Linked DNA regions of Homo sapiens: all the other regions are linked to region 1. Evidence: promoter capture Hi-C in 16 types of primary human blood cells and fetal thymus (Javierre and others, 2016). All regions are on one chromosome and are shown on one strand. The core of a region is centred on a gene start or on the middle of the fragment in contact, and the rest is flanking DNA. Distances in the headings are between cores, read along the strand shown.

Region 1 (4,048 bases), core at 332-2,831:
CCGCGGCCGCCGTGGTGCTGAAGCGGACAGCTCCGGAGTGCCTGGCGGCGGCGGCGGCACGGCCCTGCAGCCCCCGCCCGCGGGCGCCTGGGCCGGGGCGGGGGGGCGCCGGCAGCCGCATCGCCGGCCCGCGCTCCTGGCCGCTGCGAGGCTGGGCCCGGAGCCCGCCGCCCGAGCCGGCGCGTCTACACTCCGGACGGCGGCTTCTCCCCCATCCCCTTCAGCACGTCGTCTATCCGGTCATCCTCGATCACCACTGCGCAGGGAGAAAGCGCGTCAGCCGCGCGGCCTCGGGGGGCGGCGGCGATGAGAATGAGCCCCGCGTCCTAGCTTCCCGCGCAGCTACTGCCCGTGGCCCAGCGACGCCCCTCGGAACCCTGTGCCGCGGTGTCCTCCCCGTCCGAACTCTTCTGGAGACCCAACCCGCCGCCAAGCCTAGACCCCCTCCCCTCCCGATGGCGGAACGCCCCTCTTCCAAAGGCTCCAGCTATTCTCCCTCCCAGTGCGAGCCCTCCTGCCACCTGAGCCTTCCTCCCTCTGAGTTGATCAGAAACCTCTTGCTCACGGAATCCCCCTCTTCAACCCGCACTTCAACAGATCCCCCTGCTCAAATGGGGCTCAAACCGAGTATCCAGCTGGTCCAGCCCTCTCCTCAACCTGAGCCCTCTCGCCGCTGGAACCCCTCTTCCGATCCTGGCACCAACAGAGCTCCCCTCCCCATGCAAACAACCAAGACAAGCGGACCCCCGGCCTCCTGCCCTCTCTTGTTAGACGTCCCTCTCGACCCGAAGGTTCTTCGTATTGTCCACCGACTCAGTATTTGATCCCAAAGAATCAGCCCGTTACCCCGTGCTCCCACTTCCGTGCAGCCCCAAATGCCCCGACCGGCCCCTCCCCCTCGCCCGGGTGCCAGGGCTCTGCTTCCAGAGGTGGCGAGCATCGAATCCGGGGCACCGTGTTCCCGGGAGAAGGGAAGAGGGGGACACACACTGCAGCGGGGACCCCCCCCTCCAGCCCGGGCTGGAGAGCGGCTGGTGCGCTGGTCTGCGGCAAGAGCTGCGGGCACTCGGCGGGGAACGGCAGCCGGGGGGCGCCCGGCGGAGGGTTTCTGGGTCAGGCGGCGACTCCGGGCCCGGGCCGCGTACCTCGCTTGGCTCGGCCGATCTGGCCCAGCTTGGGGGGTCGCTTGGCCTGGTTGCCCGCGAAGAAGGAGTTGGTGTCCTGCAGGCGGCAGCTGAAGGAGAGGTCGGAGCCCTCGGGGTCTGCGCCGAAGCGGCCCATCTTGTCTTCGCTGTAGGGCAGGATCTCGGACATGGCGGGCGCGGGGTGGGCGCGGGGCGGGAGCGGGACTGCGGCGGGGCGCGGGCGGCGGGCTTGCTGCCGGACCGGCCCTACCTCAGCAGGGGAGCCGGCGGAAGGATGAAGTCATGCAGCATCCGGGGCTGAGGAGCCAAGCGGGGCCTCCTCCCCCGCGCCTCCGCCTCCCGGGCCGCTGGGCAGGCGGCGGCGGCGGCGGTGGCGGGGACCGGGCGGGGGCGGGGGCGGGGGGCGGGGGTGGCGGCGGCGGCGGCAAGAGCGGAATGACGATGAGCGCCCGACTGCGGCAGAGCACGGCGGGCGGGGCGCGGTGGAGGCGGGGCGGGCACTGGCCAGGGGAAAGAGGCGGGGCCGGGGGCAGGAGCGCGCCCAGCTACCCCGGGAACAGAGGCAGCTGGAGTGGGAGGTTCCCGCACTGTGGCGGGGAATGGCCAGCACGTGGGTCTTGGGGAATAGTACCAGCCAACCCGGCCGGGACCTCGCGGGGAGGGGCGGGACCGAAGGGGGGTGGGATCGAGCCTGGTACTGGAGGAGCTTGGAGGAGGGTCTGACCCCTAGGCTGGGAGAGGCGTGCAAGGGGGACTGGGAGCAGGAGGGCAAAAGCTGGCCGGGCGCGTTGGGGCGGGAAGGCGGCCGCAGGGCTGGCAATGGAAAGCGGGGAGCGGGAAATGCGCGGGGAGGAGACTCGGGTACAGGGTGACTGGGGAAGGCACGAACCCACAGCGCGGGAAGAGCTCGGGCCAGTGGGATGGTGCCCTTGCCGCTGACGCGCTCTTGTACTAGTTGCTCTGCTGGTCTTAAGTAGATCGTCAGGGTCCGTGCGCCTCTGAGTGCCGGTCTGTGTCTCTGTCTCCGCCTTTGTGTGTGTCAGTCCATCTCTAAGTGTCTGTATCTCTCTGTCTCTGTGCCCCGTATCTCTTTCGCTGTGTTATGGCCTTTGTCTATGCCTGTCCCTTAAGTGTCTGCCTTTCTCTATCTATCTCCATTCTTGACTCCTGTATCTCTGTGCCAGTGTCTCCGTCTCCTGAATCTGGGTATTTCAGTCTCTCCTAGGAGGGGTCTATAGAAACTGGGCCGACGCGCGCGCACCAGGGCAGACACCCCCAGCCCTAGTCCGGTGGCTGTAGCCCCCCGCGGCTCTGGAGTGGTGCGCTCGCAGTGTAGGAGGAATGAATGGCGGCGTCGCGGGGGGCGCCCTGGGCTGCGGGTGACGCGGGGAAGCTCGGAGCACCTGAGGACGCGGAGCGCGCCAGTGTGTGCCCCGAGGGAGTGCGGTAGAGATGGAGGGTGCCCCCCGCCCTCGTTGCTTTGGACCACGGGTGAGTTCTCGCCTCACCGATGGGAACATGCCCTCTTCTCCCCTTGCCTCCCGCCCCCACAACCCCCGCCCTGGCTGGCCGTCACCCGCGGCGTCACCTGCTTGCCAGCGCGCAGGAGCTCTGGCGCAATCACTGGCCTTGGGGAGGAGGGGGTGTCTCACATGCGGCGACAGTGACGGCAGCGCTGAAAACGGTAATGATCACCCTGTACGTTCATTCCACACTCCAGGCGAACGCGCTTTCCTTCCTTAATCTGGCCAAATTACCAAATCACACAGCTGGTGAGGCTGCCTTGTAGTGGGTCTCCTTCCAACACTTTCTCGCCAGGTGTTAATACCGGAGACACAGGGACAAACGCAATGGTGGCTGCCCAGGGAACTGGATGGGGGGGGCGGTATGCCACAGGATACCTTGATGCCAGCCTCACTCAAGGGCCCAGGCCTGGGGGCCCATCACTATGAAGCCCTCCTCTGCTCTGTCCTAGTCTCCGGGATGAGGGCCACAGCTGGAGGTGGAGGCCCAGCCTGGAGTGAGAGGAGCCCTGAAACTGGAAGGACAATAAAGGCGGAAGACTGGGGTCACTGGAAGAGAGTCCAGAAAATTCCACATACACTGGAAGTTGTCCAGTAATGGGTTCCAATCCTGACTCCCACTTTCTCAGTGACCTTGAACTGAAGGACCCATAATCATGGTTTTAAAAAATTAATTCGTTTGTACTTAAAACATTTTAGGAGGCCGGGCTCAGTGGCTCACGCCTGCAATACCAGCACTTTGGGAGGCCGAGGTGGGTGGATCACCTGAGGTCAGGAGTTTGAGACCAGCCTGATCAACATGGCAAAACCCTGTCTCTACTAAAAATACAAAAAAAATTAGCCAGGTGTGGCACACACCTGCAGTCCCAGCTACTTGGGAGGCTGAGGCACAAGAACCGCTTGACCTAGGGTGGCAAAGGTGGCAGTTGGCGGACATTGGGCCATTGCACTCCAGCCTGGGTGACAAAGCGAGGCGAGACTCCGTCTCAATAAAAGAAAGAGAGAGAGAGAGAGAGAGAGAGAGAGAGAGAGAGAGAGAGAGAGAGAAAGGAAGGAAGGAAGGAAAAAAATTTTAGGAAAATTAAGAAAATCACATAACATCTTTTTTTTTTTTTTTTTTTTTGACACGGAGTCTTGCTCCGTTGCCCAGGCTGGAGTGCAATGGCGCGATCTTGGCTCACCATAACCTCTACCTCCCAGGTTCAAGCGATTCTCCTGCCTCAGCCTCCCGAGTAGCTGGGACTACAGGCACACGCCACCATGCCCAGCTTTTTTTTTTTTTTTTTTTTTTTTTTTTTTTTGAGATGGAGTCTCACTCTGTCGCCAGGCTGGAGTGCAATGGCGCCATCTCAGCTCACTGCAACCTCCCCCTCCTGTGTT
Region 2 (4,048 bases), core at 503-3,002, 450 kb before region 1:
GTTGAGGACTGAAACAAGTCACTCCTGTGACACGGTCCTTATGCTGTGACCATCTGCTAGCATATGGCTCAGAAATAGTGAAAAATCCAGAAACGTAAGAGCTGAAAGATTTTGAAAGCTTTGGTTCTTCAAAGGCATTATGATACAGTCCAAGTATGTAACTTTCTGGGGACCAGACTTTGCTGAGAGTCATAATGGAGAGTCAAAGAGTCTGATGGCTGAGAGGGGTGTGCCTAGGCTTGCCTTCATAAATGTTCATTGTCTCAGCCAAGGTTTTGGCAGGAGCGAGAGCAGGCTCAGATCAGTGTCACAGGCAGTACCTTACGTGACTTGGACTCCAAGTTATTGATGGAAGGAGTCCTGTGTGAACGGGGCCAACAGAACTGGCTTTGGGGCTTCATCATCATCTTGACCCTGTTCAAAGGGGAGGTTCTTCCATTTGTCTGGGGTGGGCTGCAGGGCCTAGCTTTTTTCAAAAGCTGCTTTTGGGAACGTGGCCTGAGTCCTGGAGTTCTGTACCATGGAGCACAGAGAGGCGAGACCTTGTTCTAAATGCCTGCAAACCCCCTCGACTTGCGGAAGGATCTTTAGGACTTTCCACCTGCAGAGCGTCATAGTGCAGCCCGTGGCTGCTTGAGGCAGCTCCCGCAGTGGCAGCTTGGGTTGTGAAATAATTAAAAAGTTAACATTTTCTTTTGTCTGGAATTTGCTAACATGTTGAACTGCTTTTTATTTATTTAGAGACAGAGTCTGGGCCGGGCACGGTGGCTCATGCCTGTAATCCCAGCACTTTGGGAGGCCGAGGCAGGCAGATCACAAAGTCAGGAGATCGAGACCATCGTGGCCAACATAGTGAAACCCCGTCTATACTAAAAATATAAAAATTAGCCAGGCGTGGTAGCAGGTGCCTGTAATCCTAGCTACTCAGGAGGCTGAGGCAGGAGAATCGCTTGAACCTGGGAGGCGGAGGTTGCAGTGAGCCGAGATCGTGCCATTGCACTCCATCCAGCCTGGGTGACAAGAACAAGACTCCATTGTCTCAAAAAAAAAAAAAAAAAAAAGAGTCTGCTCTCTCGCCCAGGTTGGAGTGCAGTGGCACGATCTCAGCTCACTGCAACCTCCGCCTCCTGGGTTCAAGTGAGCACGTCTGGCTAATTTTTGTATTTTTAGTAGAGATAGGGTTTCACCATGTTGACCAGGCTGGTCTCAAACTCCTGACCTCAAGTGATCCACCTGCCTTGGCCTTCCAAAGTGCTGGGATTACAGACATGAGCCACCATGCCTGGCTTGCTTTTTATTTTTAAGAACTTTTTCTTTACAGAATTATTATAAAAATGTTTACAGAAACTTTAGCAAGCATAAAAAATGTGTTTGAAAAACTACTCATAATTCCTCCTCTGAAAGATAATCACTGCTAACATCTCTCAGTGCCTTTCTTTCAGTCTTATATGCGTATTATGTATGTGTGTGAGAGATGATTGATAGATAGCTATGAGTTGGGACCACATGGTTGAGACTTGTCTGTCTCAGTTGCTTCTTGGGTCACTTGCTGAACATGTTAGGCCTGATTATTTAGACCTAAGTGAGTGGGAAGGAGTTTCAGCATAACCCACATCTCCTCATAAAGAGGCCAGGCTGGGTGCAGTGGCTTACACCTGCAATCCCAGTGCTTTGTGGAGGCTGAGGCAGGAGGATTGCTTGAGCCCAGGAGTTCAGGACCAGCCTGGGCAACCATAGGGAGACCCTGTTTCTACAAAATGTACAAAAATAAATAAAAAATGGCCGGGTGTGATAGCTCAACGCCTGTAATCCCAGCACTTTGGGAGGCTGAGATGGGAGGATCATCTGAGGTCAGGAGTTCGAGACCAGCCCAGCCAACATGACGCCCCGTCTCTACAAAAATTAGCTGGGCATGGTGGTGGGCGCCTGTAATCCCAGCTACTCGGGAGGCTGAGGTGGGAGAATATCGCTTGAACGTGGGAGGCAGAGGTTGCAGTGAGCCGAGATTGCACCACTGCACTCCAGCCTGGGTGACAGCCAAAAAAAAAAAAGCCAGGCATGGTGGCATGCCCCTGTGGTCCCAACTACTCGAGAGGCTGAGGCGGGAGGATCACTTGAGCCCAGGAGGTTGAGGATGCAGTGAGCAGTGTTCACACCACTGGGTGACAAAGCAAGACCCTGCCTCGATGATGATGCACCCTCAGAGCAACACTGGAGTTGGTGTCTGTGAAAAGCTGTCTGCTGTGCATTGCAGAGGCTCTTGACCATCTGTTTGTTTGTCTTGCAGTCAGGCCTGTCTGGTGTGGTGAGGCCTCCACTGCGGCTGCCCCACCAGCACTGCCAGGAAGGGGCAGGCCCGGTTGGTCCTGGCTGAGCTGCAGCAGAGCTGACCAGCCCATTATAGGAAAAGAACAAACAAGCATCTGGGCGCTGTGCAGGGTGACGTTGGCCAGGGGGGGTGAGGGGCTGGGAGCACACGGCATCAAGCTAGAGGATGCTGGGAGCTGCAGGTGGGAACACAGCTGGCTCCCAGGGAAAGTGAGGAGGGGGGACTAAGGCAGGAAAGAATAATCCTAACACCTGTGCCTCAGTTATTTCCTGTACTGAGCACCCCACCCATAAACACGGATGCTCTTGGCAAGCCACAAGGTGTAGCTGGTAGCGTCGTCACTTCTCAGTGAAGAAACGGAACCCCAGTTGCTCACAGGTAGCAAGTGAAGCTGGGATTAGAGCCTGAGGAGCTTCAGAGAGAGGCGCCTGGGTGAGGGTAGGGGACGGGTGGGTTCTGTGGGCTGCACCTACCACATGTGCTCTGCACCCCACAGCAAGAAGTGCTCAGCATCAACAGGCCTCTGAGGTGTGGCGGCAGCTGCACCACACTGAAGTCCTTAGCACCAAGAGACTGGAGAAAACAAGCGTGAGAAGACTCGTGCTTATAATTTAAGAAACTGAAACTACATTTTTGCATTTTAGTAAAATCTGAGATTGTACAGTTTTTAATCTCATTTCCACAGACACCCAGCAGGCAGCCTCTTTTCTCTTAGAAAAATCAAACATGCAAGCCGTGAAGTCAGGAATAGCTGAACCCCTTGGATAAGCACACGCTTTGGGCTTCTTTAAAGCGAGCCTCTCATCAAGAGCATTTCCTTTGCTGGCATGAGGGGAGGGCTGTGCCTGCCAGGGCTAGCACCTGGGAGGGACGCTGACAGGCAGTCGGAGCTGGAACCACTGTCCCACCTGCACGTCTGGTGGCTCTGAGACCCGAGTGCCACCACCTGCAGCTTAAATGCTCGTCTCACTAGAGCCACTTGTGGGCTGGAGAGGAAGAAAGATCCAAAGGGAAATCCACAAATTTCCTTACTGAAGACTGTCCTGAGCTTGTACCTCTAAGCTTTAAAAAGAGACGAAGACCCCTCAAACGTGTGAAGGCACCAGGCGTGACCCATGTGGCCATGCTGGCTGGAATTTACGGAGGAAGTTAGGAGAGAGCTTTGCAAAGAAAATGAACTGCCTCTTCAAAAGGTGGTGAGTTCCCCGTCACTGTACATGTGAGCAGGGTAGACGGAAGGGTTGGTGTAGAGGACATTTTAAGGTATTTCAGGGAATGAGACAAATGCCACCTTCCCAAAAACAGTTCCAGTTCTCAGCCAGTGTGTATGATAGTGCCCTGCTCATCATCCTTATGTTAGCGGGAAAATCATTAGTAACAAAATGTGGATTCAATCTTTAGAACCTAGCACAAGGTAAATGTGAGTCATTCAATCCCAAGAACTGTTTTGTTAAAACATGAGGCTCATCTTGGCCATAAGGAGGTCTGTGAAGTGGAAGCCCGTGACTGACGGTCTGTTTCTTCTGGAAATTTCCTCCTGGATACTCAGCATCACCATGAGTCATGCAGGTGACGGCCCAAGATTCCAACAGCTTCAACTGCAGGGGCCATTTGTAGGAAGAGCCAAGGGTCTCACTGTAGGTTATGAAATTAATCAAGTGCTCACGCATCCTGGGAAATCCACCAAAAGTGGACATAACTGGTTCTTTCAAGGGCCGG
Region 3 (4,048 bases), core at 1,004-3,503, 430 kb before region 1:
AACAGAACCCCTTCATGTTTCTCATACTGTAATATCAGGTCAGTTTCTACTATTTATACTGCACTGCTGTTAGAGCTAGACCTTGCATATACTACATACTACTCCTCTTTAATCACTTAAAATTATAAATGGCATAATGGCATTTAGTTCTGCCACCTACTGGGAAAAACTGCTTCACTTAGAATAGATTTTTCTTTTTTTTTTTTTTGAGACAGAGTCTCACTTTGTCGCCCAGGCTGGAGTGCAGTGGCGTGATCTCGGCTCACTGCAAGCTCTGCCTTCTGGGTTCACACCATTCTCCTGCCTCAGCCTCCCGAGTAGCTGGGACTACAGGCGCCCGCCACCACGCCCGGCTAAGTTTTTTGTATTTTTAGTAGAGACGGGGTTTCACTGTGTTAGCCAGGATGGTCTCGATCTCCTGACCTTGTGATCCGCCTGCCTTGGCCTCCCAAAGTGCTGGGATTACAGGCGTGAGCCACTGCACCTGGCCAGAATAGATTTTTCTTTTTAATAAAAAAAAAAATTAAGTTTTCCATTGTCGCGGAACAAAATAAAAACCAAGTAAGGGCAAAAGGCAACATTTATGTAAGAAAAGACAGGCCCCGAGGGGATCCAGCTCATGCTGACGGGTCTCCCACGATCAGATGGACGCCAAGAGTCCTGACCGTGTTTCCGTGATACAGTTACTACTAAGCACTAGTCTAGGCAAAACCCCATTGTTTGAAGCACACGTGGAAGGTCTTGTAACCACAATGCCATTTGCTGTGACCCAAGGAAGCAGTTTAGCAACCAATTCCATATGGTGTGGTGGGGGTGGAAAGGGCTTATAGAGGTGGGTTTACAGCTCTGCTCTGCTATTGAAGAGCTGTTTGGCCTGGGGAAGATGATGTCTGAGCCTCAGTTTCCCATCAGTAAAATGGGAGTAGTAATAGTATAACATAAGGGAACTAGCTTGGTGCCTGCATACAGCGGGTACTCAGTAAGTGGTCCACATTGGTTTGCAGTCACCGGCCTCTACTCCAGTCATACAGAGCAATGGCTCCGCCAACTCAGCATGTCTAAATAGCACTGGCGAGACAGAGGTCAGGGTAGCAGGGTGGGACGCCAGGCAGGGGAGAGGAGGGCAGGAAAGTCTGAAGGGGAAAAAGAAGATGTCAGCATAGACTGGGGGCCAGGCTGCAGTCTTCTAAGAGGGGGCTGGGAATAACAGGCCAACAGTTGGGGCAACTTAAGGTTAAGCGTAGGGTAAAGGCACAGACTGTCTCTACAATGAGCCAGGTATGCTGGGTAAACCCAAAGCAAGCCACGTTGAGGTTTCCTCACCCTCCCAAGCCCACCTGCTTCTGCTTCCGTTGCATAGTTCAATGTCTCTGCCATGGGGATGGGGGGTAGGGGTGAGGCTGGGGTAGGAGGAGCGCATGACCCAAGGAAGCAGTTTAGCAATCAATTACACTCAAACTTACATTCCAAAAAGAGCTCCCCCAAGATGTGCCGCATGATCAAAAAATTTCCATCCCAGGATCATTCCTGCTGTATCCATGGCGATAATGGCTTTCAGGGCCTGAAAGGCAGCAAGAAACAAGCGGCACAACTGTGATTGCTCCAGCACTGACATTTCTAACTTAAGGGCAAGAACCCACTCAACATAAAAACATCACCACTATCCCCAGCACTGCACTTCATAAAAATACTTACATTCCCTGCTGTGAACGTGAACATCGGAAGGAAAATAATGGCAAGCCTCCCTTCTGGGATCTTAGTGCAGACAGCTGCGAGGACTGTCATGATGGCACCAGACTGCAAAGTAACACAGCAGGGAGAATGGGAAACTCAATATGCAACTGCTTAGTGGCTACAAGGTCTAAAGAGCAGCACATTTTCTAGAAAGTTTACATGCTGCACATTTCTAGGTGAGCACAAAGCTTCAAAGCTTTCAGTTACTTATGTCCCCAATAATAGGTGAAGGAACTAAATGTCCTTCACACAGTAATCGCTTGGAAAGACTGAATTTTTACTACGGGGCAGTAAGATGTATGTGCCTCATGAACCGCAAGGACAGTGCTAAGCGTGTCATGCGCATCTTTCACCTATGGCCTAGGAAAGAACTGCTCACACTTCTCTGACAAAGCTCCAACCAGAGGGAGTGGGCATGAATACGCCCAAAGAAACCTGCATGCATGAAGCATGTTTCATCTTAAAAAATTCATGTGAAATCTTTATTCATCTTCATAAAGAAACAAAACATTGCCAGTGTGGTGGCTCACGCCTGTAATTCCAGCACAGTGTGAGGCATGAGGATCCCTTAAGCCCAGGAGGTCAAGGTTACAGTGAGCTATGATTGCACCACTGCACTCCTGCCTGGGCAACAGAGTAAGACCCTGTCTCAAAAATAATAAAGGAATAAACTGATACACAGAACATGGATGAGTCTCAAAGTAATTATACAGAGTAAATGAGGCCAGGACAACAAATACTAGTATATGCTGTATGGTTCCATTTGCAAACTAATTTATCTTTAGTAGAAGTAGGTAAGTTGTCGCCAGGGGTAGAGGAGGGGCAGGAAGGAGTGACCACTAGGAAGCTTTTGGGATGAATATGTCCATGATCTTGAGTGTGGTGATGGTTTCACGGGTGTCTACATGTCAAAGCTTACCAAACTTTAAATATGTGCAGTTTTTTGCATGTTAACTAGTAAACCTGAGTTGCCTGCTTTTTAAAAAGACTACATGGGGCTGGGTGCAGTGGCTCTCGCCTATAATCCCAGCACTTTTGGAGGCCGAGGCAGGTGGATCACCTGAGGTCAGGAGTTTGAGACCAGCCTGACCAACGTGGTAAAACCCCGTCTCTACTAAAAATACAAAAAAAAAAAAAAAAAAAAAAATTAGCTGGGCGTGGTGGCGGATGCTTATAATCCCACCTACTTAGGATGCTAAGGCCCGAGAATTGCTTGAACCCGGGAGGCAGAGGTTGCAGTGAGCCGAGATTGTCCCACTGCACTCCAGCCTGGGTAAAACAGCGAGACTCTGTCTCAAAACAAAACAAAACAAACAAACAAAAAAGACTTTATGGGAGTCCTCTGTACTATTTCCTGCAACTTTCCATAAGTTTTTAATTATTTATGAATGAGATGTTTAAAAAAAAAAAAAAGACACCTAAGAGCAAAATAACTTTTGAAAGAAGCCCCTATCATTAAAAAGAAAGGTTCCTACCTTTTCATATAAAAACGGTTGTTTCTGGAAAATAGCATCTACCTCTCTTAATCAATGTTTTCTTAATGTCTTCTATGTGACGGGTTGCTTCAGAATACAAGATTATCTTACATTTGGGGAATTACTAAAACTTTAAAGAAAATTATTATGAGTCCCAGAGATCTCAGATGTCCCCAGTCCCTCATATAACTGCCAAGTGGCCTCAACAGGGAAACAAGCTCGGGTTGCATTCTTAGAAGTCAGGGTAACTGCAAGATGGAAGGACAGCATGAACACTCCTCAAAAGGAGGACCCAAGAAGACCTGAATTTTGACCAAGCTGGCTTCTGTGCAAGAGACTATAATTGTAGCCGGGCACGGTGGCTCACGCCTGTAATCCCAGCACTCTGAGGGGCCGAGGCAGGTGGATCACCTGAGGTCAGGAGTTCAAGACCAGCCTAGCCAACATAGTGAAACCCCGTCTCTACTAAAAACACAAAAATTAGCCAGACGTGGTGGTGGGCGCCTGTAGTCCCAGCTACTCGGAAGGCTGAGGTTGTGGTGAGCCAAGATTGAGCCACTGTACTCCAGCCTGGGCGACAGAGTGACACTTTATCTCAAAAAAACCCCAAAACAAATCAAAATTACACGTTTCCCCAAAATGAAGCAAATATAATTTGATTAGTTGATATGAAAGAGCATTAAAATTCTATGAAGTTCTGCCAGGCACAGTCGCTTACACCTGTAATCCCAGGACTTTGGGAGGCTGAGGCGGGCAGATCACCTGAGGTCTGGAGTTCGAGACCAGCCTGACCAACATGAAGAAACCCAGTCTCTGCTAAAAATACAAAATTAGCTGGG
Region 4 (4,048 bases), core at 918-3,417, 400 kb before region 1:
GAATACCATAATGCCATTAAAAAGAATATGCTGGCCAGGCACAGTGGTTCACACCTGTAATCCCAGCAATTTGGGAGGCCAAGGCAGGAGGATCACTTGAGCCCAGGAGCTCAAGACCAGCCTTGGGAGGTTGAGGCTGCAGTGAGCCGTGATCATGCCACTGCACTCCAGCCTGAGTGACAAGTGAGACGCTGTCTCAAAACAAACCAAAACAAACAAAAAAGCCTGATGTGCTGGTAATTTCCATTTATCAATCCAGGTGCTGGTTACATGGATGTGCTCAGCCTGTGAAAATTAATTAGTTGAGTTGTACATCTGACATATTCACATTCTTCTATGTATATTATACCTCAATAAAATATTAAAAAGAATGTAACAAACCTACTTGTATTGATATAGAATGTTCTTTAAAATATTAAGTGAAAAAAAATCATGGTGCAGAAGAGTATGTACTGCATGTTTCTATTTTTGTGTTAAACCACAGATAGATATAAATGCCTATATATAAATAGATGCTTTGGAAGAACACACAAGTAACTAAACATGCAATGGTTATTATGGGAAAGGAAAAGTGCAGAACTGGAAGTTCAGAGTGAGAGAAAGACTTATTTTTCACTTTATGTATCCTCTATTCCAATTTTCATCTGCTACCATGCATATTTATTCATTTTACAATGACAAAATCTAGTCTAGGCAGTCAAAAAGGGCTCCCTTTCCTCCCTGGGGGTAGGCTGCTACTTTGGAACAATTTGCTGCAATTTGTGCTGTGAATCAGCACCCAGATACTTGATAGGGGGAGGCAGTGTGGTTTATCAGAAAGGTAATTAATGGTGGTTTGCTATTCTAGAAAAGTGAAAAGGACATAATAAAAACCCTATTCTTTGATACATGAAGTGGATTTGATTCCCGAATCCACCCAGTTCTAGCTGTGTGATCGCAGTTACTTGGCCGTTCCTTGCCCCATCTGAGAAATGAGGATAACAGGGTTCTTATGATGACTAATAATAATAGAAATGCATGTAAAGCACATAGCATGATACTTGAAGTGTGGTTGGCACTCAAGGATTAACTTTGCTATTCTTCTACAAAAATAACTTGTTTGCAGACTGGGAAGTCAGGAGTTACAGAAAAACAGTGACTGATTCTGATTAAAAGGTAAAGATGGGCTATAAGACCAAGGAAAACATTGCCTTACCAGCAACATCAGGAATAGGTAAGGAGGCCTTAGTCTGGGAAGACAGCTCAAAACCTTGAAAAGGTACAAGGAGAGAGAGAACTGAAATGAAAAAGAATAAGCCTGGCAGAAACAGAACAGCAAAGAAAAAAGAATAGACTTTAGAAGTTGGGGCAAGGGGTCAAAGACTGGAGAGTAGTAGTGACTAAGCTTTGGAGCTGACAAAAAATACACTAGTAGAGGAACTACGGCACAGTTTTCTTGCGATCTCTCTCCCTATCCTTTTCTGTCCTTGCTCCTTCTTGATCAAAAATAATAATTTAGCTGATTTTTTCCTGTGGCTTTACCTGAATCTCAATACAGTAAAGTCAGCATTCTCTTGAACTAACAGGAAAACCTGGCAAGTGCCTCAAAGACAACCCTGAAAGCTAGAAAGGGAGGAGAAAATATTCTCTCTGGGGGTTGCCTGGGGACCTCTAGGAGAGGCTTAAAAGGCTGACAGATCAGGGCAATAGAACAGAAAATTAGGTGAAATATAAAAGCACCAGGGATGACAAATTTAAGTTTGAAGAATGCCACGTTATACTCCCCGCTTGCCCCACAAATACCTAGTGGGCTTATAAACACTTTTTCAGAGCAATATGAAGCCTGGGGAGATTATTTCTGTGTAATAAAAATTAAGACCAAAAAAAAAATCCCCAAACAAACCAAAAAAAAAGGATTAAAACAAGTTTCCTAGCATAGCTTTAAAAAGGGATTTGCACAGACAGATTGAGACAGAACAGTCAAAAACTACAGACTCGCCGGGCGCGGTGGCTCACGCCTGTAATCCCAGCACTTTGGGAGGCCGAGGCGGTGGATCACGAGGTCAGAAGATCTAGACCATCCTGGCTAACGCGGTGAAACCCCGTCTCTACTAAAAATACAAAAAAATTAGCCGGGCACTTATAGGCTGAGGAAGGAGAATGGCGTGAACCCAGGAGGCAGAGCTTGCCCGTGAGCAGAGATCACGCCACTGCACTCCAGCCTGGGTGACAGAGCAAGACTCCATCTCAAAACAAAAACAAAAACAAAACTACAGACTCCAAACCTGGCATCAGCTGTAAGAAGGGGAGGTTTTTGTTGTTGTTTTGAGACAGAGTCTCACTCTACTGCCCAGGCTGGAGGGCAATGGCATGATCTCGGCTCACTGCAACCTCTGCCTCCCAAGTTCAAGCGATTCTCCTGCCTCAGCCTCCCAAGTAGCTGGGATTATAGGCATGCACCACCACGTCCAGCTAATTTTGTATTTTTAGTAGAGATGGGGTTTCACCATGTTGGCCAGGCTGGTCTCCAACTCCTGACCTCAGGTGATCCACCTCCCAAAAGTGCTCCCAAAGTGCTGGGATTACAGGCATGAGCCACTGCACCCAGCTAGAAAGGGGTTTTTTACCTCACCACCAGATGCCACCTTAACAATAAAATAAATTATGGGTATGCCTTACAATCTGACTGTTCTTACCTATACCTAGGAACCAAAGAGACATGGATAAATTTGAGATACCCCTCATTCTCTGAAACTCAGAAACTATGTATATTTGGATTAACACTTTACTGTCTGAACTTACCGTATCCAAAATCTTTCCATCCAAATTCAAGAGCTCAACAGATTCAATGGCAAGGAATACTTACATGAAGTGTTTGGTGTAGCAGTGAGAAATCTTTAACCGACTAGAGCTTTCATGCTGCCATTGTCTAGGTATGAATACTACAAAGCAGAGAGGCACACTGGTCTCACAAAGCTTTAAAAACTCTCTAGGTCAAACTTGTCAAGTTCTTTCAAAATATAAAACGAAAAAAAAAAAAACCCATTCGGAAAACATCTCCAATCCAAAGAAAGAAAGTGGGACGGAGTAGACCTGTCACCCCATAAATCTATCACTGATTAAAACCAGAAGCTGAGCCAACTTCACTTTGCAGTCTACAAGAAGCAATCAGGAGTGCTCAGCAAGGAAAGCTGGACTAATTGGCACCCCAGGAAGAAGACAAGACATACTAAATAAACAGTTTATTCTTGAGACTCTCATATATAGGTAATTGATTAAGCACCACTTACAGACATTGTAAAGCTAGAATCACTATTACTAGAATAATTATTTCCTACAAGAAAAGTCTGAGGTGACACAAGACAGTTCAAATGGCATTTCCTGAGGTTAAAGTCACTTGGATAATCTAACAATAAAGATTTAAGACCTGCAGCATGACCATTCACATTTATGTTGTTCAAAGCAGCTTACATTCAAGTTGCAAGACAGATCACAAGCATCTCTCTCTACTGCTACGCTCTTCATGCCAAATGGCTGATTTGATTTCAAAAAAGAAAAAGACTAGGGGGAAAGAATTCTGATTTTTAATTACCTCTAGCTTCTTTGAAGAAAGTATTCACCAGCATGAGAAAAGGTTTTAAACTCTGATGCTAGGCTTCTTCATATGTTAAATGGCATAAAATCATGACCACCTTCAAAGAATGTGAGGTATAAACTAATAGTGAAATGCTTTGAAAATAGTGAAGGCAAAACCTTGCCACCCTAAAGAAATCTTAATTTCGTTACTTTTTTTTTTTTTTTTTTTGAGACAGAGTCTCGCTCTGTCGTCCAGGCTGGAGTGCAGTGGCGCAATCTTAGCTCACTGCAACCTCAGCCTTCCAGGTTCAAGCAATTCTGCTTCAGCCTCCCTAGTAGCTGGGATTAACAGGCGTGCACCACCACGCCTAAGCTAATTTTTTGTATTTTTAGTAGAGATGGGGTTTCACCGTGTTGGCCAGGCTGGTCTCTGACTCCTGACCTCAGGTGATCTGCCCGCCTCGGCCTCCCAAAGTGCTGGGATTACAGGCGT
Region 5 (4,048 bases), core at 751-3,250, 360 kb before region 1:
AAACGGCATAACACAGAGCAGTACCCTGGCCCCCTCTTTTTAACTTAAGTTGGCACAGCTTCTAGACAACCTGGGCCTGGGTCCTTCTGCCACGCCAGCAGCAAGATGACCTGATGCCCTGGTCCTATCCACTTTCCCAGAGACTCTTGACAAACCTGTAAACTTGCTGGCCAATTTCTGCCAAGGACAGAATGACAGTGTAAAACATCTCCATTGAACACATTGGTTCACTTACCTAGAGTGGCATTTTCGTATAAATACAAACAGCAGGGCATATGGTAGGAAAAGAAAACACTTTAGAGTCAGAGGGACATGCATTTGAAACTCAGCTAAGTCACTTACTAGCTGTGTTTGGGCAGTTTCTTAAGCTGCCTATGCTGAAGTTTCTCTATCTATGGAAAAGAAACAGCAACAAAGCGTCCGAAGGATAGGGCTTCTGTGAAGAAAAAAATCTGTGGAGGAAGGAACCTCAAGTCTGGGCAAATTAATAATAAGTTAATAATGGGGCTGGGCATGGCGGCTTATGCCTGTAATCCCAGCACTTTGAGAGGCAGAGGCAGGAGTTCAAGACCAGCCTGGCCAACCTGGTGAAACCCCGTCTTTACTACAAATTAAAAAAAAAATAAAAATAATAAAAATTAGCTGGACGTGGTGGCACGTGCCTGTAATACCAGCTACTTGGGAGGATGAGGTGGGAGAATTGCTTGAGCCCCGGAGGTGGAGGCTGCAGTGAGCTGAGATCACACCACTGTACTCCAGGGCAGTACTCGGGGCAGAGCCAAAGCTCCTTTCCGAGGAAAGTCTCAGGGCTCCCGCCACCACCTCTATGTACAGAGGCATCACCCTGCACCAGGGCACCAAGATGAGTCGCTCTGTTTCATTTTCATTAAAATGGCAACCTCACCACCTACACATGTTGGTATGTTACCTGTTGCGGGAAGTCAGGGACCCCGAACGGAGGGACTGGCTGAAGCCATGGCAGAAGAACCTGGATTGTGAAGATTTCACGGACATTTATTAGTTCCCCAAATTAATACTTTTATAATTTCTTATGCCTGTCTTTACTGCAATCTCTAAACATAAATTGTAAAGATTTCATGGACACTTATCACTTCCCCAGTCAATACCCTTGTGATTTCCTATGCCTGTCTTTACTTTAATCTCTTAATCCTGTCAGCTGAGGAGGATGTATGTTGCCTCAGAACCTTGTGATAATTGCATTAACTGCACAAATTGTAGAGCATGTCTGTTTAAATGATATGAAATCTGGGCACCTTGAAAAAAGAACAGGATAACAGCAATTGTTCAGGGAATACGAGAGATAACCTTAAACTCTGACCACCGATGAGCCGGGTGGAACAGAGCCATATTTCTCTTCTTTCAAAAGCAAATGGGAGAAATATCACTGAATTCTTTTTCTCAGCAAGGAAGATCCCTGGGAAAGAGAATACGCGCCTGGGGGTATAGGCCTATAAACGGCCCCCCTAGGTGTGCCTGTCTCTTATGGTCGAGGCTATAGGGGTGAAATAGACCCCAGTCTCCCATAGCACTCCCAGGCTTATTAGGAAGAGGAAATTCCCGCCTAATAAATTTTTGGTCAGACCAGTTGCTCTCAAAACCCTGTCTCCTGATAAGATGTTATCAATGACCATGGTGCCCGAAACTTCATTAGCAATTTTAATTTTGCCCCAGTCCTGTGGTCCTGTGATCTTGCCCTGCCTCCACTTGCCTTGTGATATTCCATTACCTTGTAAAGTACTTGATGTCTGTGACCCACACCTATTTGCACATTCCCTCCCCTTTTGAAAATCCCTAATAAAAACTTGCTGGTTTTTGCGGCTTGTGGGGCATCACGGAACCCACCGACACGTGATGTCTCCCCCAGACGCCCAGCTTTAAAATTTCTCTCTTTTGTACTCGTCCCTTTATTTCTCAAGCTGGCCGACGCTTAGGAAAAACAGAAAAGAACCTACGTGACTATCGGGACAGATTCCCCGATAGTTACCCCAGTTAGCCTTGACTCCCAGGATACACACCTTTGTGTAATCCCCTCCCCTTGAGGATAGGATGGATTTAGTAACTCACTTCTAACAAATAGAAAATGGGCCAGACGCAGTGGCTCATGCATGGAATCCCAGCACTCTGGAAGGCCAAGGTGGGAGGATCACTTGAGCCCAGGAATTTGAGACCAACCTAGGCAACATGGTGAAACCCCATCTCTACCAAAAATTTAAAAATTAGCCCATTGTGGTGGCACAATGTGGTGCCTGTAGTTCCAGCTACTCAGGCAGCTGAGGTGGGAGGATCACCCAAGCCTGGGAGGTTGAGGCTGCAGTGAGCTATTATTGTGTCCCTTCACTCCAACCCAGGCAACAGAGGGAGACACTGTCTCAAACCAACAACAACAACAACAACAAACCCAACAAATAGAATATGGCAAAAGCGGCCGGGTGCGGTGGCTCACACCCGTAATCCCAGCACCTTGGTAGGCTGAGGCAGGCCAATCACTCGAGGTCAGGAGTTCAAGACCAGCCTGGCCAACATGGTAAACTCCATCTCTACTAAAATATACAAAAATTAGCCAGGCATGGTGGCACATGCCTGTAATCACAGCTACTCGGGAGGCTGAGGCAGGAGAATTGCTTGAGCCCAGGAGGCAGAGGCTGCACTGAGCTGAGATTGCACCACTGCACTCCAGCCTGGGGTGACAGAGCGAGATTCTGTCTCAAAAAAAAAGAATATGGCAAAAGCAATGGGATATCACATCTAAGATTAGGTTACAAAAAGACCATTGCTTCTATTTTGGGTGCCCTCTTGCTTGCTCTCTCTGATGGGGTTCAGCTGCCATGTTTTGAGCTACCCTATGCAGAGGCCCATGTGTCAAGGAACTGAAGGTCTCCAGCCAACAGTTCATGAGCAACCGGGTCCTGAAGACCTCCATGTAAGTGAGCTTGAAGTGGAGCCTCCCCTAGGGGAGTCTTCAGGTGACACTGTAGCCCCAACAACAACTTGATGGTAACCTCATGAGAGACCTTGAGTCAGAGGCATCCAGCTGAGCCACACCCATTTTCCTAACCCTCAGAAACTGTGAAATGATAAATGCTGTTGTTCTAAGCCACTAAGTTTTGGGGTAATTTGTTACACAGTAAGATAGGTAAGTAATTCAACATCTGTCATCTAGGATCTGCAAGGCTCCGTCAACAATACAGAGCACCATTGTACCGAATGACACCGTGGGCACAAAGCCCTCAGCACACAGCAAGCCTGGGCAAAGAGCAGGTGTCCTCATGTTATTGTCCAGCTCACGTCAAAAATCTGCTCGGAAAGCTATCTCAAGCTGGATCACCAGAGAGCTATCATCTTCAACTATGCTCGAGACCAACCTGGGCAACATGGTGAAACTGCATCTCTGCAAAAAAACAAAGCAACAACAACAACAAAAACAACGAAAATTAGCCAGGCATGGGGGCTCATGCCTGTAGTCCTAGCTACTCGGGAGGGTGAGGTGGGAAGATCGATTGAGCTGGGAGATAGAGGCTGTGGTGAGCCGTGATCGTGCCAATGCACTCTAGCCTGGGTGACAGAGCAAGACTCTGTCTCAAAAATAAATAAATATTGGCCGGACGCGGTGGCTCATGCCTGTAATCCCAGCACTTTGGGAGGCTGAGGCAGGCAGATCACTTGAGGTCAGGAGTTCTAGACGAGCCTGGCCAACATGGTGAAACCCTATCTCTACTAAAAAATACAAAAATTAGCCGGGCATGGTGGCACACACCTGTCATCCCAGCTACTCGGGAGACTGAGGCAGAATAGCTTGAACCTGGGAGGCAGAGGCTGCAGTGAGCCAAGATTGAGCCACTGCACTCCAGCCTAGGTGACAGAGCAAGACTCCATCTCAAAAAAAAAAAAGAATAGAGGTTAAAAATAAATAATTATTTATATAAACTTCAACTGTGTTATTTTGGCTGACTGTAGGAATGAAAGGAATTTTATCTCTTAAAAGGAATTGAGATAAGAAGCAGCTGCCATCTTGAAGAATATTTCTGCA
Region 6 (4,048 bases), core at 545-3,044, 340 kb before region 1:
AGCTTGAACTCTGGGAGCAGGCTGTTTGGGTTTGAATTCTGTGTGATTCACTTCATACTGGATATTGGCTTGAGACAAGTTAAATCTTCACGAGCCTTTCCTCATCAGCAAAATGTGCTTAATTTTAGCTACCTTGTAAAGTGGTTGAGAAAATCACGTAAGGCCATGCTAGAAGTACCTAGTACAGTGCTTAGCTTACAGGTGCCCCTGAGTTCTAGCCAAGAAAACGAGCACAGAAGCGATGTCTAATGTTTTCAGGCCTGTTTCATAACACTTTCTGCTCAACATTCTGTGCTCTCTTCTCTGATCAGCACAGTGGATCCAGCAGAGAAGCTCAAATCTAGAGGTTTGCAGGGTGACCAGGAGGGAGGGAGACTGGGTTCCTGAACGCACGGGCAGAACCTTCATTCCACCCCTCCACAGACCACACTGCTTTGCTACAGGAGTTTGGTTACTGTGGTAAACTGCTGAAAGTCTGGGCTTGTTTCTTACACCTGTTAGCCTACTCTACTTGGCAACAGAGAATTATGAGCTGGGAAAGCACAAAATGGCAAAATGGAAATTGCTTTTAAAAATCCAATTTAGGCTGGGCACAGTGACTCATGCCTGTAATCCCAGCAGTTTGAAGGGTCTCGTTCTGCTGACCTTGTTACCTTCTTGGAAGATAAATCTAGTGCCTCAGTAAAAGTGGTTACCGTTTAGATTGGAGCTGCCCAACAGAACTTCCTGCAATGATCGACACGTCCTATATCTGCACTGTACATTACTATGTTGTACAGGTCGCATACAGCTACTGAGCGCTTGAAATGTGACACTCTAGGAACTAAAGTTTTAACTTTAGAGTCAAGCTCCTGGGTTCTCACGACAGCACAGGTACTTTAGAAAAATTAGTATAATTTCTACTGATGGCCAGCAAACTAATACCAGTTTAAAAGCTTTCTTGGCTGCATTCAACACAATATAGTCAGAAACTTTAGAATGAGTACCCTTTGCTTTTTTTTTTTTTTTTTTTTTGAGACGGAGTCTCACTCTGTCGCCCAGGCTGGTGTGCAATGGCACGATCTCAGCTCACCGCAACCTCCACCTCCGAGTTCAAGTGATTCTCCTGCCTCAGCCTCCTGAGTAGCTGGGACTACAGGTGCCTGCCACCACACCAGGCTAATTTTTGTATTTTTAGTAGAGACGGGGTTACTAATTTTCAATGGGTGAATCTGAATGAATTGGCTGAAAGGGTAATTATATTGTTTGAATTGCTAAGAATCCTCGATAAACTATTCATTTTAAATACATCTCACCACGACCACCCACCTCACCACAACCACTCACCTTTCCACTCCCCACCCTCTTATGGGCAGCCAAGGAGCTTTATTTGGGGACCATGTCCAGGAACACAGGCAGCGGGACTAAGGCCCACAGAGATGATTCCAGGTGTTCAGGGCCCCATGGCCCTTGCAACCAACCAGCTTTGCTACCAGTCCTTCCCAGATGCAACTCCATTGCTGGATATGCAGGTCCCAAAGCCATTCAGGGATATCTCACTCCCTTCCCAGAGAATTGTTTGATACACGAAGAGTTTTACAAAATCCAAAATAATTTTATTCACATTTTCAGATTTTTGCTTCCACAAGGTGTTCAGCAAACATGCTAAGGCGACAGAATGTCTAGTTGGTCACGACATGCAACGCTGACCATTCAATTGATGACAGCAGTGACCACGCCCACCTGAGCTACCAGCCCCACAGCACAAAGGGGGTTTGCGGGAACACACCAAACCACACAGCAACCAGCAACCTGAGGTAGGTCTCTTTACAGTACAAAAACTTCTACGCCAGTGTGAGACACTGATTAGCAAGAGCTGCTTAAAGTTGCAGACTTTGAGGGGAGAGAGAGAGAGAGACTGTGCGACGACTGCGGTGAGAAAGGAAAACAGACCCACGAAATCCTGAGCCCTGCCACTGAACTGTGGAGGTGTGGGAATAGGCAAATGAAAAAGTGCCACCTCAAAAAGCAGCAGTTGGCTCCAGGGCTTGGAACCAACAGGTCTTGGAGCTGGAGAGCTCTGTGCAGTGGCCAGCCATAGGAACCTGAGGCAGTGGGACTCTCTGTGGATAGACTGATTCTTGTTTAGAAACAACAGCAAAAAGAAGAAGGCAGGAAAGAAACTCCCCGGCTCGGAGGAATGTCTCTGTGATCCCCATTCTTGATGGAGGGAGTGAAAAGGGGCCTGGGCTTCGCCCCGCTGCTCTCCTGACAGAAACAGTAAGTGACACCAGGACAGAAGGCAGGAGCCCTGAGAACTCACGGCGCTCTGCATGGTCTCCAGCCGCCCACCCGTCTCCAGCCACCCCTGGAGCGGCCGTGGGGAGGCGGCAGAGGGGGCTGTCGGAGGGCCCACTATTGCCACACGTCTTCCTTTGGACACCCAGAAAACCTGGCACCGTGAAACCACCAGCTAGAGAAGAATGAAATGCTACTCTTCCTACAGTCTAATAGCAAAACCAGATCTCTAGTACAGCAAACTGTACAAAAATGATAGAAAGGAATATGCACTGTTATTAGCACAGTGCTTATTTTAATATAAAATAAACAGCTTACATTTTCACTGTAAATATAGGCTATGTACAGAATTATATATAGATATAGCTACACGTATAAAGCTTCATTATAGGCCTCTGATACAATTATAATAACGGTTCCCTGAACCTTTTAGAGTGCAATTAAGAACAAAAACTAAATTTTGTTTACATGAATATGGAATAAATACAATAATCAAAATATGACTCTCCCTAAAAGTGAAACACACAAGCCAATCCGGAACTGCTGTGCGAAAGATAAAATCGAGAAAGGCAAGGTTTCGGTAGGAGGACGCGATGAGGGGCCCGCCCCAGGCAGGGAATGGCAATGCTCTAAAGAAAAGAGACTTCGTCAACAGGGAGGAGTCAGCCCTTGACAGCGACCTTGTTCTCTGCAGCAGCAAACATGGCATAGAATCGGGAACTGTCGTTGGACAGAAGGACCGATGGGGTGTCAAACTCCACCACCTGCAAAAGAAGGAGACGCCGTCAGGACACAGCTCTGGGTCATGCAGGGTGATTCAGAGGATCCACGGCTCAGTAAGTGCCAGTGCCCTCTGAGGGTAGAATCTGGGGACAATTCAACTAGCCCTGCGTGCACCTCCCCCCTTATTTTTTTATTTTCAACTATCCAGGGAGTAAGGGAAAGGACAGAGAAAATGACTTCCAGCATTTTTGTAGTATGTGGTTTTGCCTAATAAAGTAGTATCATAGCAAAAAAAAAAAAAGAAAACGACTTCCAGACCTCCTTCACATAAATCCAAATTCCTTCAGCCTTGGGAGTGAAGGAACCAACCAACCAGGTCTATAAACTGCAGGAGGCTGGTGGCTCACGCCTGTAATCTCAACACTTTGGGAGGCTGAGGTGGGCAGACTGCCTGAGGTGAGGAGTTCAAGACCAGCCTGGCCAACATGGTGAAACCCTGTCTCTACTAAATATACAAAAATTAGCTGGGCATGGTTGGCGGGTGCCTACAATCCCAGTGACTTGGGAGGCTGAGGCAGGAGAATCGCTTGAACCCAGGAGGTGGAGGTTGCAGTGAACTGAGATTGTACCACTGCATGCCAGGCTGGGCGACACAACGAGACTCTGCCTCAAAATAATAAATAAATAAATAAATAAATAAATAAATAAATAAATAAATAAAAAACAACAGGCTGGGTGCGGTGGTTGATGCCTGTAATCCCAGCACTTTGGGAGGTCGAGGCAGGCGGATCACCTGAGGTCAGGAGTTCGAGACCAGCCTGACCAACATGGTGAAACCCTGTCTCTAGTGAAAATACAAAAATTAGCTGGGTGTGGTGGTGCATGCCTGTAATCCCAGCTACTGGGGAGTCTGAGGCAGGAGAATCGCTGGAACCCGGGAGGCGGAGGTTGTGGTGAGCAGAGATCGTGCTATTGCACTCCCAGCCTGGGCAACAAGAGCGAAACTCCGTCTCAAAAAAATAAATAAATAAATAAACAAAATAAAATA
Region 7 (4,048 bases), core at 567-3,066, 320 kb before region 1:
AAATGCCTCCTGGTCACCTTAGGAACAGGTGCACAGAGCTGAATGCTTCTTAGGCAAAGTTAGGAGAACAGAGATCTTACAGCAAGCAGTTGAGGGGCAAACCAGAGGACAAGATGTCTTTTTTCTCCCTACCCCCTTATTAGGGCTGAGAGAGAGACTAAGACAAGGCCTCCTGTTGCCACAGCAGCAGCTGGGGAATTGAAGAAGTTCCAGGGATAAATAAACACATACGGGAAGGAGGTTTTGCCTCGACTCAATGAGTAGCTGTCAATGGCCCTACTGTGATAGGAAACTATGGCAGAGAAGCAGGTTTGGGGGATCAGTGTTATTACAGTAATCAGCAGAACAGGTTAACCAAATCTTCATTTGAAAAGTTTACATAAGTAATACGAGATGACATCATCAATCTCCCATAATCTCACTTCTATCATTTTAGGCACACTTCCTTTCGGTCTTTCCTCAGAGTTGAGATCATATCAGAAATGCAATATTGTAATTGCTTTTTTCACTTAACACTGCATTGGCCGGGCACGGTGGCTCATGCCTGTAATCCCAGCACTTTGGGAGGCTGAGGCGGGCAGATCACCTGAGGTCAGGAGTTCGAGACCAACCTGGCCAACATGGTGAAACCCTGTCTCTACTATAAATACAAAAATTAGCTGGGCAAGATGGCGAGTGCCTGTAATCCCAGGTACTTGGGAAGCTAAGGCAGGAGAATCACTTGAACCTGGGAGGCGGAGGTTGCAGTGAGCCAAGATCGTATCATTGCACTCCAGCCTGGGCGACAGAACGAGACTCTGTTTCAAACAAAACAAAACAAAAGCATTGTATAACACTCAGTCAACCATCTTTTAAAAAAATTTTCAAGATAAAATTTTAGTGGTTGCATTCCATCATGTGCATGTATTCTTGTTCAGCCAGCCCTCTAAGGGTCAACATTTAGTTTATGTAAAACTTATAATAATGTTATGTCCTATTATCTTAGTGCTGAAACTTTACTGCCACCTCAGACAATTTCCTTGGGAAAGAATCTTAGAACTGAAATTACTGTGTCAAAGGATATAAACATTTAAAAGGTGCTCTCTCTACAGAGCCAAAAAGAAAAGAAGTTTGCCATAGTCCTGTCTACCTTTCTGCAACTTGGTTCCATGGTTTAGATTTAGAACTACAGGGTTTTAGCTGTTGAATCACTTTTCCTTGGCTGTACGCCTGGTTCTTGACCCTCCTACCTTTCTCGTGCCACCATGTCATGAAAGACCTCTTGTGAGGGCCTCATCGAGATCACCACGATGCTGTCTCTTCAGCACTCATGGAGGGCGCAAACAGCCTGCCTTGCCCCAGTGTCTACAGCCACGACCCCACTGTCGGGATCTACCCCCTGGGCATACCTCTGTCTAACAGCCTAATGGGAACCTGAAAAACACCCATAAGACTTGGAAGAAGTAACGCCCAGGAAACTTGGAAAAAGCTGTATTAGGACCCATCTTCCTAATGCAACAATCCTCACATCCTTCTACCAGAAACGAGTTAGGAAACCTGGTCCGTCTAGCAGGATAGTTCTCCTCCTAGAAATGAGTGACTCCAGGCCGGTGGGCGCAGCGGTTCACACCTGTAATCCCAGCACTTTGGGAGGCCAAGGTGGGTGGATTACTTGAGGCCAGGAGTTTGAGACCAGCCTGGCAAACATGGCAAAACCCTGTCTCTACTAAAAAATACAAAAAAAAAAAAAAATTAGCTGGGCATGGTGGCATGTGCCTGTAATCCCAGCTACTCCAGAGCCGAGATTGCACCACTGCACTCTAGCCTGGGCAACAGACTGAGACTCTGTCTCAGGAAAAAAAAAAAAAAAAAAAAAAAAAATGAATGACTCTGTTCAGGGTTGGGGGACTCAGTTACTGGCCCCTTTCCCAGATAGGAGGGGAGGAGACATTCCCTCTGGGCCGAGGCAGGGCTTTAAGATCTAAGCTAAGGAAGGAATGGTGCCCGAAACAATGGGTCAAGTTGTTCCAGTTTAACAAAAGGTGCCTAGGTTTGGACCACCTGGACTGGAAGACTTTAGAGTCCTCTGAATCTGACTACCTTTGCACTGATGGAATGTGCTGGTAAGAAAGGCAGTGAAGTCCTCAAGATGGTGTCCTTGACTGACATGACCACAGGAGAGTTTCCAAGTTACCCGTGAAACTTGGAAGAAGCCCTATTAGAACCGGAGTGTAAATCAGGTTATTATTATTATTATTATTATTATTTGAGATGGAGTTTCGCTCTTGTTGCTCAGGCTGGAGGGCAATAGCGCAATCTCAGCTCACTGCAACCTCCGCCTCCTGGGTTCAAGAGATTCTCCTGCTTCAGCCTCCCGAGTAGCTGGAATTACAGGCATCCACCACCACGCCCAGCTAACTTTCTGTATTTTTAGTAGAGATGAGGTTTCACCATGTTGGCCAGGCTGGTCTTGAACTCCTGACGTCAGGTGATCCACCAGCCTGGGCCTCCCAGAGTGCTGGGATTACAGGCGTGAGCCACTGCACCTGGCCACTATGTTCTTTTTCTTGTTTCTCTTCTGTCACTAACTACTGTTTAATGAAGTTGTGGTGCTTGTTTTGGCCTATCTCACCTGTGTTAAAGGGAAATCATAACAAAGGACATCAGTCAGCTTTCAGGGGAGCAGTGTACCCCTGGGGACGAATGCAGCAGATGGGCTCAAGGGAGAGAACAGTAAAAAGGCTTGGGGAGAGTCACCCTGCTTGGCTAAAGATTCCCTTCCAGCATGAAAGACCTGGAGCAATGTCTTGTTTTGACGTGAAGTAATTCCCTCAAACAGAAAGCAGGAAATGGCTTTTTCCTTTTCTTCCTTAGAAAGTTCTTTAAAATCAATTGGCCAGAAAAGACAAAAGGTTTTTTTTTTTTTAATGGCAAGGAAAAAAGCTAGAAGAGTTTTGATGCCAAAGAAGCATGGAGCCTAGAAAACTAATGAAAACTGAATCAAAGATACCTCTTATACAAGGATAAAAAGGACAGTAAAAGAAGACAAGTTCAGTCTTTGGAATGCAATTCAGGAACGAAAGTGAGAAAAAAGGGGCCGGGTGCGATGGCTCACACCTGTAATCCCAGCACTTTCAGAGGCTGAGGCGGGTGGATCATGAGGTCAGGAAATCGAGACCGTCCTGGCCAACATGGTGAAACCCTGTCTCTACTAAAAATACAAAAAAATTAGCTGGCGCCCCTGTAGTCCCAGCTACGTGAGAGGCTGAGGCAGGAGAATCGCTTGAACCTGGGAGGTGGAGGTTACAGTGAGCTGAGATCGTGCTACTGCACTCCAGCCTGGCAACAGAGTGAGACTTTGTCTCAAAAAAAAAAAGAAGTAAATTACTCAAGTCCTGACCCTAGAAATCTAAAGGATCTACAGTTACGCATTTCTTTTCTTTTTTTTTTGAGACGGAGTCTCGCTCTGTCACCCAGGTTGGAGTGTAGTGGCGTGATCTTGGCTCACTGCAACCTCCGCCTCCCAGGTTCACGCCATTCTCCTGCCTCAGCCTCCCAAGTAGCTGGGATTACAAGCATGTGCCACCACACCTGGCTAATTTTGGACTTTTAGTAGAGACGGGGTTTCACCATGTTGTTCTGGCTGGTGTTGAACTCCTCAGGTGATCCACCCGCCTCGCCCTCCCAAAGTGCTGGGATTACAGGCATGAGCCACTGCGCCCAGCCTACTGATAGTTTTAAAAGAAGGCCATGAAACAGCATGTGTCAATGACCTCATTTTTGTAAACCTACATATTACTAGAGGAAGCCTAACAAGATAGCTACCAAAATGTTACCAGTGCTTCTCTCTGGGTAGCAGAGTTGTGGGTGCTGCTCCTCTTTCGTACTTGGCTGTGTGCCCCAGTGTTCTGCATTGAGAATGTGCACATTTATGACTGTGAAAAGCACTCAATGTCATCAAAGTGGGGTCAACAATAAACCTAGAAAATTGGTTTCAGTAGGGGGCTGAGACACTAATTGCTCATCAAACAAACAAGGATCCGGTTTAAAGGGGTGAAAGTGATATTTC

What was found. Contacts are between HindIII fragments. The CHiCAGO score rates a contact against its expected background, and 5 or more counts as called.
Region 2: a fragment that was not itself captured here is called in contact with the fragment with the promoter of CAMK2N2 in region 1 in 1 of 17 cell types (M0 macrophages); the score reaches 6.4 in M0 macrophages.
Region 3: a contact is called between a fragment that was not itself captured here and the fragment with the promoter of CAMK2N2 in region 1, in 4 of 17 cell types (M1 macrophages, erythroblasts, megakaryocytes and 1 more). The highest score is 6.6, in M1 macrophages.
Region 4: a fragment that was not itself captured here is called in contact with the fragment with the promoter of CAMK2N2 in region 1 in 1 of 17 cell types (endothelial precursors); the score reaches 5.3 in endothelial precursors.
Region 5: a contact is called between a fragment that was not itself captured here and the fragment with the promoter of CAMK2N2 in region 1, in 17 of 17 cell types (M1 macrophages, M2 macrophages, M0 macrophages and 14 more). The highest score is 27.4, in M1 macrophages.
Region 6: a contact is called between a fragment that was not itself captured here and the fragment with the promoter of CAMK2N2 in region 1, in 6 of 17 cell types (M1 macrophages, M0 macrophages, M2 macrophages and 3 more). The highest score is 13.0, in M1 macrophages.
Region 7: a contact is called between a fragment that was not itself captured here and the fragment with the promoter of CAMK2N2 in region 1, in 5 of 17 cell types (M1 macrophages, M0 macrophages, M2 macrophages and 2 more). The highest score is 8.0, in M1 macrophages.

What each region holds. Positions count from the first base shown.
Region 1 is chr3:184,259,972-184,264,019 of GRCh38, forward strand. It overlaps CAMK2N2 (calcium/calmodulin dependent protein kinase II inhibitor 2), which reads right to left and starts at 1,582. Exons shown (of 2, transcript NM_033259.3): 1 at 1,146-1,582; 2 at 1-256. The coding sequence starts at 1,314. The coding sequence ends at 186. All of the region lies in intron 2 of EEF1AKMT4-ECE2 (EEF1AKMT4-ECE2 readthrough), which reads left to right. RefSeq lists enhancers at 1-236, 237-788, 2,674-3,436. The HindIII fragment of the contact is 12,942 bases long and covers 1-4,048 here.
Region 2 is chr3:183,812,963-183,817,010 of GRCh38, forward strand. It overlaps MAP6D1 (MAP6 domain containing 1), which reads right to left. Exons shown (of 3, transcript NM_024871.4): 3 at 2,960-4,048. Among named protein-coding and RNA genes, the nearest start is that of YEATS2-AS1, 4.5 kb to the left of the region's middle. The HindIII fragment of the contact is 3,273 bases long and covers 117-3,389 here.
Region 3 is chr3:183,832,029-183,836,076 of GRCh38, forward strand. It overlaps PARL (presenilin associated rhomboid like), which reads right to left. Exons shown (of 10, transcript NM_018622.7): 8 at 1,696-1,797; 9 at 1,464-1,561. Among named protein-coding and RNA genes, the nearest start is that of MAP6D1, 8.5 kb to the left of the region's middle. The HindIII fragment of the contact is 651 bases long and covers 1,929-2,579 here.
Region 4 is chr3:183,857,050-183,861,097 of GRCh38, forward strand. All of the region lies in intron 4 of PARL (presenilin associated rhomboid like), which reads right to left. Among named protein-coding and RNA genes, the nearest start is that of PARL, 26 kb to the right of the region's middle. The HindIII fragment of the contact is 1,571 bases long and covers 1,383-2,953 here.
Region 5 is chr3:183,898,487-183,902,534 of GRCh38, forward strand. It overlaps the pseudogene CYP2AB1P. Among named protein-coding and RNA genes, the nearest start is that of MIR4448, 14 kb to the left of the region's middle. The HindIII fragment of the contact is 4,315 bases long and covers 1-4,048 here.
Region 6 is chr3:183,918,361-183,922,408 of GRCh38, forward strand. It overlaps ABCC5 (ATP binding cassette subfamily C member 5), which reads right to left. Exons shown (of 30, transcript NM_005688.4): 30 at 1,574-3,041. The coding sequence ends at 2,940. Among named protein-coding and RNA genes, the nearest start is that of MIR4448, 34 kb to the left of the region's middle. The HindIII fragment of the contact is 1,722 bases long and covers 934-2,655 here.
Region 7 is chr3:183,938,629-183,942,676 of GRCh38, forward strand. All of the region lies in intron 25 of ABCC5 (ATP binding cassette subfamily C member 5), which reads right to left. Among named protein-coding and RNA genes, the nearest start is that of MIR4448, 54 kb to the left of the region's middle. The HindIII fragment of the contact is 7,094 bases long and covers 1-4,048 here.